Regions from separate parts of the Homo sapiens genome. Here all the other regions are linked to region 1. Evidence: promoter capture Hi-C in 16 types of primary human blood cells and fetal thymus (Javierre and others, 2016). All regions are on one chromosome and are shown on one strand. The core of a region is centred on a gene start or on the middle of the fragment in contact, and the rest is flanking DNA. Distances in the headings are between cores, read along the strand shown.

Region 1 (3,318 bases), core at 331-2,830:
TGAGAGCAGTGAACGATGAGCTACCCACCTCCATTTAGATATTTGAAAATGTATATGACTGTGTTCCACTTAATGTAAGAATATAATGGACTGTCTAGTTTTGCATCCAGATACAAGCCCAGGATATCAAGAGGTAAAGTCTTATCTCTCAGTCCGTGTCACCTATGCATGATACTGCCAGGTTTCAGACAGTTTTCAGGTGACTTCTATTATAACACCGGATGGCTTTATAGTGACCTAATGAAAGGAGGAGGGAGTGAACCATCAAATTAAAAAAAAAAAAACTCTTAGATATTATATTCTTCTTATTATAGTGGAATGCATACATCTTTAATTTCATGTATACCTAAACTATTTGTTTCATTACACTTGCTACTGAACTCAGTTAAAATCCTGACCTCAGAATTTCATTGTGGCTTATATATGTCTGGGAAGGAAGATTACAGGAAGGATTTTGATAATGTTCTCATAAAAACAGCCAGGCTAGTACTTGCTAAAACATCACTGCTGTCTCTGGATATTTTCTTCCTAGACTAGACCCATGAGTAGCTTAACCAAAGTGAAGTGTCCTGATTAGGCCTAAATGGCCATGAATAGAAAAACAGAGATAATCTCCTGTCCTATCTCTGAGTCTACTTGGCAGAAATTCCCAGGAACTAGATCTCTGTTGTTAGAAAACTCTGCCTATCAAGGAACCTACTCCTTTCCCTCAAAGTGAATATTTTATTTTTAGACAAAAAGTGGGGGTTTCAAATTCCCGACAGACATCTTATAAAGAAAATTAACACAAGATTTGTGATCTGATATCAGATTAAATGAGTTTATTTGAAGAAAAAGAAATCAACTCTTGCTCCATTTTTAACTAGAGAAGGAAGGGAAAATACAAGAAAACAGAAGAAAAAGAGATGAGTATTCTATGAGAAATGTTATTTTAATATTAATAAGTTTAAAACAATTATCTTTTCTGGATAGTAGAATATAGGTTCTAGCCAGATGATAGCTGAGATGGACTTTGAGAGAAATAATTGTAATGTGGAGGTTTGGAGCCCTTAGCAAGTTGATCGGTAGAAGCCAGATCCACAAGTTGGTCTGTAACAGGAAGACTGGAATGTCCTAAAGAGAACATATGTTGGGTGGCAGAATCCAGATCCATAGCCCAGGGAAGGGAAGCCACAGCCTCCATAACCCAGGGATCTGACGCCACTGGACCCACGGCCCACTGAGTAGCAGCTCCTAGATCCATAGCCCAGGGAGCGGCAGCTGCTGGATCCAAAGCCTAGAGACTCAGAGTAAGTCGACTGGCAGGGACTGCAGAGCACGGAGCTTCTGGGGCGGTAGCAGGAGGTCTGGCAGGGGCTGGACTCCACACAGGACATCTGGCAGCTAGGGGTTTCCCAGCAAGTCTCCTGAAAGCCCTTGCAGAGAGAGGAACCCAGCTGGCAGGTGCTGGGAGATCAAAGGTTCAGTGCTGTAGACCAGGTTGCTGGGGTACGAGGAGCCACCACGGGAGTAGCCTGAGTAGCACAGGTAGCCCTCACAGGAATGGGAGGAGAAGTTTCCACAGCAGCAGTTGTAGGACATGTTGACAGGAGATGTGAGTTCAGCTGAGCTGCATTGAGAAGATGCCCTGATGTCCCTGCCTGTGCCCAATGATCCAGTGATGTTTACACCCTCACACTGCTGGGCGTGATGCAGTATCCGGGAACCCCCCCATTCTTGTGAATGTGTTTTCATCAAATGACTAAGTAACCTAGGTTATAATTATAACTCAACACATTCATTTGTCTTTAACAGCAGTGTAATCATTCCAGTTTATAGAAGCCCATTGGCTTCTCTCTCTCTCTCTCTCTGTCTCTTTCTCTCTCTCTCTCTCTCTCTCTCTCTCTGCAGAAATAAGGTTTGGTTTGCTTTCAGAAACATTGGTGATGATACATACAGTGCCTCCCCACCCCTTTTACTGAGCTTGACTGTGGGTATTCTGAGCTTCAGCCTACAAATTCTTACCAGCAATGTACTCCCAACAGTAATCAGCAGCCACCCACCCCCCATTATTTACATATGTTTTATTAAGCATTAACTACATGCGCAACATTTAAAAGTGTGGTATGATTTAATCTTTGCAAATATCTTATGAGATACAAGTTGTCATAAACAATTTAGAAGTAAGGCCATGGAGGTTTGGAAAAGTTATGTAACATTCAGGTAATAAATCAAACAAATCATGGACCCCATGTCATCCCAGGTGTGTCTGTCTTTAAGGCTAGCACAAACCACAGAGCTATATAGACAATTTGTGAAGCTTGTAATTTCTGCTCCCAGAATCACATGGACAATTGAGTATGCAGGTGAAAAAAAAATTCCAAGGTGTTAATATTTGCATTTCATCTGATATATCTACTTGAGTATTCTTACCCCTTTTATGAATTCCCCAAATATAGCCAACTGAGGGGACAGCTTCTTAATTGATTTTGGTTATTTTTTTAGTATTCAGAGTTACTATGGAGATGCTTTGTTACAAATTATCTTCTATTTGCCCTCTCACTCAGTTTATCCTAGTTAAGCAACTCATGTTTTATCCACCATGGAGTTATTAGATTCTTTTTCAGTGTGAGGCAGAAAATTCTTTGGCAAACACAGACTTTCACTGGGACTAGTTGCGAAAAACTGATATGCCTTTAGTGAGTTGACTACCAATAAAATACATTTGCAGAAGCTTGAATTTTAATAGGGTGCCGACCTTTTGCCAACTCAGTTGGGAGTGAGAAATACGACACCTTCCAGAGTGATTCATTTCACTCCTTGCTGAGCTTCTCTTGTTCATCCTTCTAGGAAGACAAAGCAGCATAAAATTTACCATTATATTAAGTGGTTAAAATTATCTTTACCACTATAAAACATCAGTGGTATAAAGAAAAATCTTGGAATTAGAAATGTCTTTTTCCCCACTTGTTATCATATCCAACTTCTGCCTTCAAGCATCTTTTAGAAATTGGAAAGCAAAAAGCTATTTATGTAATTTGATCTTTTCAAACTGTTTCATAGATGATTGTTTTTTGTAATCTCCTGTAATATTTGCTTATCTGGCAACAATGGAATATTTTGTCCATTGTTTTGCTAACAAATTTCTACCAAATGCATTGCTCACATTGCACCAAATCCCTTTGTGAAAGATGTACCAAAATGGAGTCATTTATGTCAAACTCTAACAAAATGGGGTCAAGAGAGGCCACAAAAAAAATCCTCGTGCACACATGCCTGTAACAAGGGTTATCACAAGACCTTCTTCAAATTGCACTATTCCAGATAAATAGGTTCCAG
Region 2 (3,318 bases), core at 546-3,045, 240 kb after region 1:
TACAAAATATAGCAACCTCCGTCATTCTAGAGCACTAACTTGTATTGAGAATCAGAACTGTGTACAGGACTAAACACAAATTTTCAATCCTGCACAATCTCACCAAGAATCTTTCAGCTTTACCTTTCTAAAAGTTGATTTAATTTGGCATGACTGCAATAGAAATTAAAATGTTTAACCTTTAAATTTGTTAATCCATTAAATGGGATAATTTATGCAAATAATGAGCAGAGCCCCAACCTATATCTTAGTAAAAATGGAATCACTTCCCTCTTATTTTCATTTTTCACCAGAGGAATGATCACCAACTTCTCTGCCCAGTCACTGGTTGGGCAAGTTGGGTTGGAACTGCTAATGGATTGACTTTTTCACTCCAGGGAGGAAGGAATAGACAGCAATACAGTATTTTCACTTCCGTTTGCTTTCAGAAAGCCTGCACTTGGGGGCTGGGAGATACTTCACTAGTCTCATATTGATCTATAAAGTGTGATCCCTACGTTGATCGTTGGTAGTTCTGCTACATTTAAGAGTAGCAAATGAATTAATATGTACTATTATCTGTTTATATTTTATTCTGATTGCTTTATCATAATTAATGACTAATCATTAATAATATTTAATAAGTGGATGGAATAAACATGATAAATTATCACAGGGAGTTTCATAGAAAGTCAGCTCTCATAATTAAGACCTATCACCAGAATGCATTTGGGCCAGAAATGTGGTTTGCAAGATGTTATTCTATCCAAGTCACCACTTTAAAAAATAGTAACAGGAATTCTGCTAGAAGATGATCAGAGTTAGAAAAACTCAAAAGAGTCACTTAGATCTCTAAATGAGGTGATCTTTGCTGTGGAAACACAGGATTATCAGGCATACCAACCAGCTTCATATAGAGGATTCTTATCTATAAGAGTGAGTGAAAAGAGGTCAGAGTACTCAATGCAGGGCTGGAGTTGTATCAGTACAGAAGCACATGTTTAAATGTAGACTATTAGGAGAGAGAAAATTGCAGTAGAAAATAGCTTGGTGGGTAATAGTGCTACTGGTTTTGCCAATTACCTAGGTCAAACATTGAATTTTTCTAAAATGAAACTTGCATTAGATCAATATAGAGAACAGTATTCTTGAAACTGAACTTGAAATTACTTTTATACAAACATTTTTGGAAAAACATCAGTCATGAGTTGCCTGTTTTGTCACATCACTGACTAAAATAGCCACAGGTAGCAATTTCACTCTCTCTTTCTATTTCTCCCTTTCTCTCTCTCTCTCTCTTTCACACACACACACACACACACACACACACACAAATACACAAATGATAAAGAGAAATGAATATATATGATAAGCAATACATATTGTGAAAGTGATTATATTTATTAAAATGCAAATTTATAAGTTTTCCTGCATGGAAATTGTTAATATTATAACAGACATAAACACATAAAACTAACAAAATATCAAAGGATTTTCCCACTAACTGGTAGGAAATTCCACTAATCCAATGCAAATATGACCTGTGGTAATCAATAATTAGAGTTAGTTAAAATTGGAGAGACAATAACGAATCCATAAATAACCCTGTTGATGCAATTAGTGCATCACAAGAAAATGGCTCAAAGTGATCAGCAATCAGAATTTCTTTCTAGGAGCCAATAGGAATCTTCCATAGGAGCACGGAAAGTTGCAGGCATATCCAGAGTTACCATATTCAGAGCCATAGCTGCAACCATAGTCCAGGCTACCATAATAGTTGTGGTAGTAGCACATGGTGTCAGAAGATGGAGTTCAATTGAGGCAGATAGTAGTTTCTGAAATTTGACTCTCCTGATTTGTACAAATTATTTTATCCAACCTGAGTTATATGTGAAGGAAACCACAATCTACATTGGACTCATTCTCACAACTAATTTGCATTAAGATTAAAAAAACCCTCAAGAATCTCTTAGCCATATGTCCAGGAAAATATTAATATTGCTATGTGTCAGGATGCCAACAAGTAAAATCATGAGCCTTAAGGAGATATTCTCTTAATTTTGTGGCTTTTGCTTACTTAAAATCCCAATTTAAACTTGATGATTAGCTTCTCTGTGATCACATTAAGCTTATATTTCCTGCCTCTTGAAACATTTCTTTTTTCTTTTTCAATATCCTCCTCTACCTCCATAAATGCAGTCCTTAAACCACAGAGTGGCCAGGAATGGTTAGGGAAGGTTGGCTATGCAGTGAGGAAGCCGATGAAAATGTCTTTATTTACTTGCAAATATGCCTGTATGTTTTGACTAATTTATTTCTTAATCAATGGGACTAAAAATTTTCTTCCAAGTTCATATGTAGCTTATGTTCTTGGAGTAGTAAAGTTTTTTCTCTTCCATCATCCTCACTTTGGTTATATTATTAGTTGTGGTGTTCTCTTTGCATCTGAGAAAGCAATTAGAAACAATTACCCACCGTATCTCAAAATTCATGTTTTCCTCTCCTGACACATAATATTCACATATTTTACCTTCTTTTTATATTTAATGAATTTGCTTATTTTAAAATATATTAATTCCAAATTTCCAAAAGTATTGTAAAAATACTTTTCATCTTCTAGCAGAATTCCTGTTACTATTTTTTAAAGTGGTGACTTGGATAGAATAACATCAGCAAACCACATTTCTGGCCCAAATGCATTCTGGTGATAGCCTTAATTATGAGAGCTGACTTTCTATGAAGCTCCCTGTGATAATTTGTCACGTTTATTCCATCCACTTATTAAATATTATTAATGAATTATTAGTCATTTATTATGATAAAGCAATTAGAATAAAATATAAACAAATAATAGTACATATTAATTCATTTGCTACTCTTAAATGTAGCAGAACTACCAATGATCAACCTAGGGATCATACTTTGTAGATCAATGTGAGACTGGCAAAGTATCATATCAATAAGAGGCAAGTAGAACATTTAGTCAGAATTTCGGAACTGCACACAGTAGTTCATAAACTTTAGTGGATATATACCACCACCTTAACAATCGGAAAAGGCATGGATTCTCAAACCAGAAAAAAATCACCATGATAAATTCCTCCACTGGTTTGCATATGATCCAAAAGGATCCCAGAGTACATGAATTTATCCCCAGTTACCCCAAGCATAGAACAAAGATTGTGATTATTCTACACAGAATTTGAGTATAGAAAGTTGCATCATGTCATTCATTTGGTTATTTTTTCACTAATTCATCAAATCTTTATTAAGAATCTGCTGTATCAGGCACCGTTATAAGAAATGCAGATTGAGCAGATGAACAAAATAGACAAAGTC
Region 3 (3,318 bases), core at 470-2,969, 140 kb after region 1:
AAAGATACTTGAAAATGTGGAACGACTTTGGAACTGGGTAACAGGCAGAGGTTGGAACAGTTTGGAGAGCTCAGAAGAAAAGAAGATGGGAGAAAGTTTGGAACTTCCTAGAGATTTGTTAAATTGTTGTCACCAAAACGCTGATAGTGACATGGACAATAAAGCCCAAATGAGGTGGTCTCAGATGGAGGTGAGAAACTTATTGGGAACTGGAGAAAAGGTCACACTTACTATGCTTTAGCAAAGAGACTGGCAGCACCGTGCCTGTGCTCTAGGGATCCGTTGAGCTTTGAACTTGAGGGAGACAATTTAGGGTATCTGGCAGAAGAAATTTCTAGGCAGCAAATCATTCAAGATGTAATATGGCTACTTCTAACAGCATACCCTCATATGCTTGAACAAAGAGATTATCTGAAGCTGGAACTTATATTTCCAGAGCATAAAAGGGAAACATAGCATAAAAGTTTGGAAAATTTGCAGCCCAGCCATGTCATAGAAAATGAAATCTCATTGTTTGGGGAGAAATTCAAGCCTGCTGCAGAAATTTGCATAAGTAGAGAGGAGCCAAATGTTAATAGCCAAGACAATGGAAAAATGCCTCCAAGTCATTTCAGAGACCATTGCAGCAGCCCTTTCACCACAGGCCTGGAGGCCTAGGAGGGAAAAATGATTTTGTTGGCCAGGCCCAAGGACCCACTGCTCTGTGCAGCCTTGGGACATGTTGCCCTGAGTCCCAGACACTCAAGCTCCAGCCATCGGTAAAAGGGCTCCAGATACATCTCAGGCTGATGTTCCCAAGTGTGCAAGCGAGGAGCTGCCAAGGTTTTCACATGGTGTTAAGCCTGTGGGTGCACAGAGGGCAAGAGTTGAGGCTTGGGAGCTCCTGCCTAGATTTCAGAGGGAGTAAGAAAATACCTAGATTTCCAGGCAGAAGTCTGCTACAAGTGTGGAGCCCTCATGGAAAACCTCTACTAGGGCAATGTGGAGGGGAAATGTGGGTTTAGAGCCCCCACCCAGAGTCCCTACTGAGACACTGCCTAGTGGAGCTCTGAGAAGAGGGTCACCATCCTCCAGACCCCAGAATGGTAGATCCACAGACAGCTTCCACTGTGTGCCAGGAAAAGCTGCAGATACTCAATGCAAGCCTGTGAAAGCAGCCAGGAGAACTATACCCTGCAGAGCCACAGAAGTGGAGCTGCCCAATGCCCTGGGAGTCTACCCATTGCATCGATGTGGCCTGGGTGTGAGACATGCAGTAAAAGGAGATTATTTTGAAGCTTTAATATTTAATGACTGCCCTGCTGGGTTTTGGACTTGTTTGGGGTCTTATAGCCCCTTTGTTTTGGTCAATTTCTCCCTTTGGAATGGGAGCATTTACACATTTACACCTTTACCCCCATTGTATCTTAGAAGTAAGTAACTTGTTTTTAAATCCCTTCAAAATAACAGATGCTGCATCACTAGAGCAGCAGCTTAGTAGAAGCCAGTGAATCTATATCTTCTGTAGCATGATGGGCAGCAGCAGCCATCTCCACAGCCTCTGTGGCCACAACCATATCTGCATCCTTCATAGCCGCAGCCATAGCCCAGTCTGCAGAAGCTGCCACATCCACAGCCGTAGCCATAGCACATGCCACCAAAGCCTCCACAGCCATAGCCCAGACCTCCACAGTAGCTGCCCTAGTAGCTCACGGTGTCAGAGATAGTGAGTTGGGTTTGCTGTCCCAGGCAAGGTCCTGAGTGTGAATATAGCATGTTTAGGGAACGCTTATATACCCTGAGCAGAACATGTGATAAACATGTGGCCATCCTTTTGCAGCATCCCAATTTATTTATCTACTCTATACAAATAATCAATCTGTTTGTTAGCACAAGGAGAGACACAAACTCATTAAAATCTTTGAGCTGGCTTAGCTGCATGGTTAGAATGCCCTTGAACTTATTACATTTTTTTTTTAAGATGGAGTCTTGCTCTTGTCACCCAGGCTGGAGTGCAATGTTGTGATTTCAGCTCACTATAAACTCCACCTCCTGGGTTCAAGTGATTCTCCTGCCCCAGCCTCCTGAGTAGCTGGGATTACAGGTGTCTGCCACCACTCTCAGCTAATTTTTATATTTTTAGTAGAGACAGGGTTTCACCATGTTGGCCAGGCTGGTCTCGAACTCCTGACTTCAGGTGATCCACACACCTTGGCTTCCCAAAGTGCTGGCATTACAGGCTTGCGCCACTGCGCCCAGCTGATACATTCTTTTTAATGATAAAATAGTCTGCATCTTCAAAGTTACACAATTTTTAAAAAATCCTAAATTCTTCATCACTATGCATATTGAATTATTTGTATTTGACACTGTGTTTTTATTAAATGTTTTCTCATTTCTCATTTTTACACCATTCCTTAGATTGTTCTATTTTACCTCCACCTAGATTCAAATAAATCGATCAAGTTTAAAACTTTTAAATCTAGTAAAGCCTTCAAATATCAAATATTTTTATTGCGTTGAGAAATTAAGGCTATTCCTCCTTCAAAAGAAAAGGAAGTTTTTGAATAAATAAATTTTCTTATCAGCTGTGGTAAACACAAAGTAATGGAAAATATGTATGTAGACATAATATAAAACTACTTTAATTTTCTATATCAGCTTGCAAAACATTGTTTTGGCTTATCAATGTAACAAAATTTATTCCAGAAACTGATATATTATCCAAGAGAATAAACTCAGTTTTACACCAGCCTGAACAGCAGTTCAAAGATATTCTCTTCAGGTGGGGCACAGTGGCTCACCCCTGTAATTCTGGAGGCCAAGGTGAGAAGATCACTTGAGATCAGGTATATTAGTTTGTTTTCACACTGCTGATAAAGACATACCTGAGACTGGGAAGAAAAATAGGTTTAATTGGACTTACAGTTCCACATGGCTCTGGAGGCCTCAGAATCATGGCAGGAGGTGAAAGGTACTTCTTACATGGTGGCGGCAAGAGAAAATGAGAAAGAAGCAAAAGCGGAAACCCCTGATAAACCCATCGGATCTCATGAGACTTACTCACTATCATGAGAATAACAAGGGAAAGACCAGCCCTCATGATTCAATTACTTCCACCTGGATCCCTCCCACAACACATGGGAATTCTGGGAGATACAATTCAAGTTGAGATTCGGATGGGGACATGGCCAAACTATATCACCAGGAGTTTGAGAGTAGCCTGGGCAACATAGGGAGACCTTGTCTCCACCAAAAAATCAAAAAATAGCCAGGTGTGAGGTGCACACCTGTGGTTCCAGCTACTCGGGAGGCAAAGGCAGGAGGATTGTTTGATCC

The links. The method cuts DNA at HindIII sites, captures the fragments that hold promoters and counts their contacts. A CHiCAGO score of 5 or more calls a contact.
Region 2: a contact is called between the fragment with the promoter of KRTAP22-2 here and the fragment with the promoter of KRTAP23-1 in region 1, in 7 of 17 cell types (naive CD8 T cells, total B cells, M2 macrophages and 4 more). The highest score is 7.4, in naive CD8 T cells.
Region 3: the fragment with the promoter of KRTAP19-2 here is called in contact with the fragment with the promoter of KRTAP23-1 in region 1 in 2 of 17 cell types (total B cells and naive B cells); the score reaches 5.5 in total B cells.

Annotation. Positions count from the first base shown.
Region 1 is chr21:30,347,026-30,350,343 of GRCh38, forward strand. KRTAP23-1 (keratin associated protein 23-1) reads right to left here and starts at 1,581. Exons shown (of 1, transcript NM_181624.1): 1 at 1,374-1,581. The coding sequence starts at 1,581. The coding sequence ends at 1,384. The HindIII fragment of the contact is 4,066 bases long and covers 1-2,297 here.
Region 2 is chr21:30,588,602-30,591,919 of GRCh38, forward strand. It overlaps KRTAP22-2 (keratin associated protein 22-2), which reads right to left and starts at 1,796. Exons shown (of 1, transcript NM_001164434.1): 1 at 1,504-1,796. The coding sequence starts at 1,773. The coding sequence ends at 1,636. The HindIII fragment of the contact is 4,540 bases long and covers 1-2,105 here.
Region 3 is chr21:30,485,717-30,489,034 of GRCh38, forward strand. It overlaps KRTAP19-2 (keratin associated protein 19-2), which reads right to left and starts at 1,720. Exons shown (of 1, transcript NM_181608.2): 1 at 1,327-1,720. The coding sequence starts at 1,632. The coding sequence ends at 1,474. The HindIII fragment of the contact is 2,321 bases long and covers 1,276-3,318 here.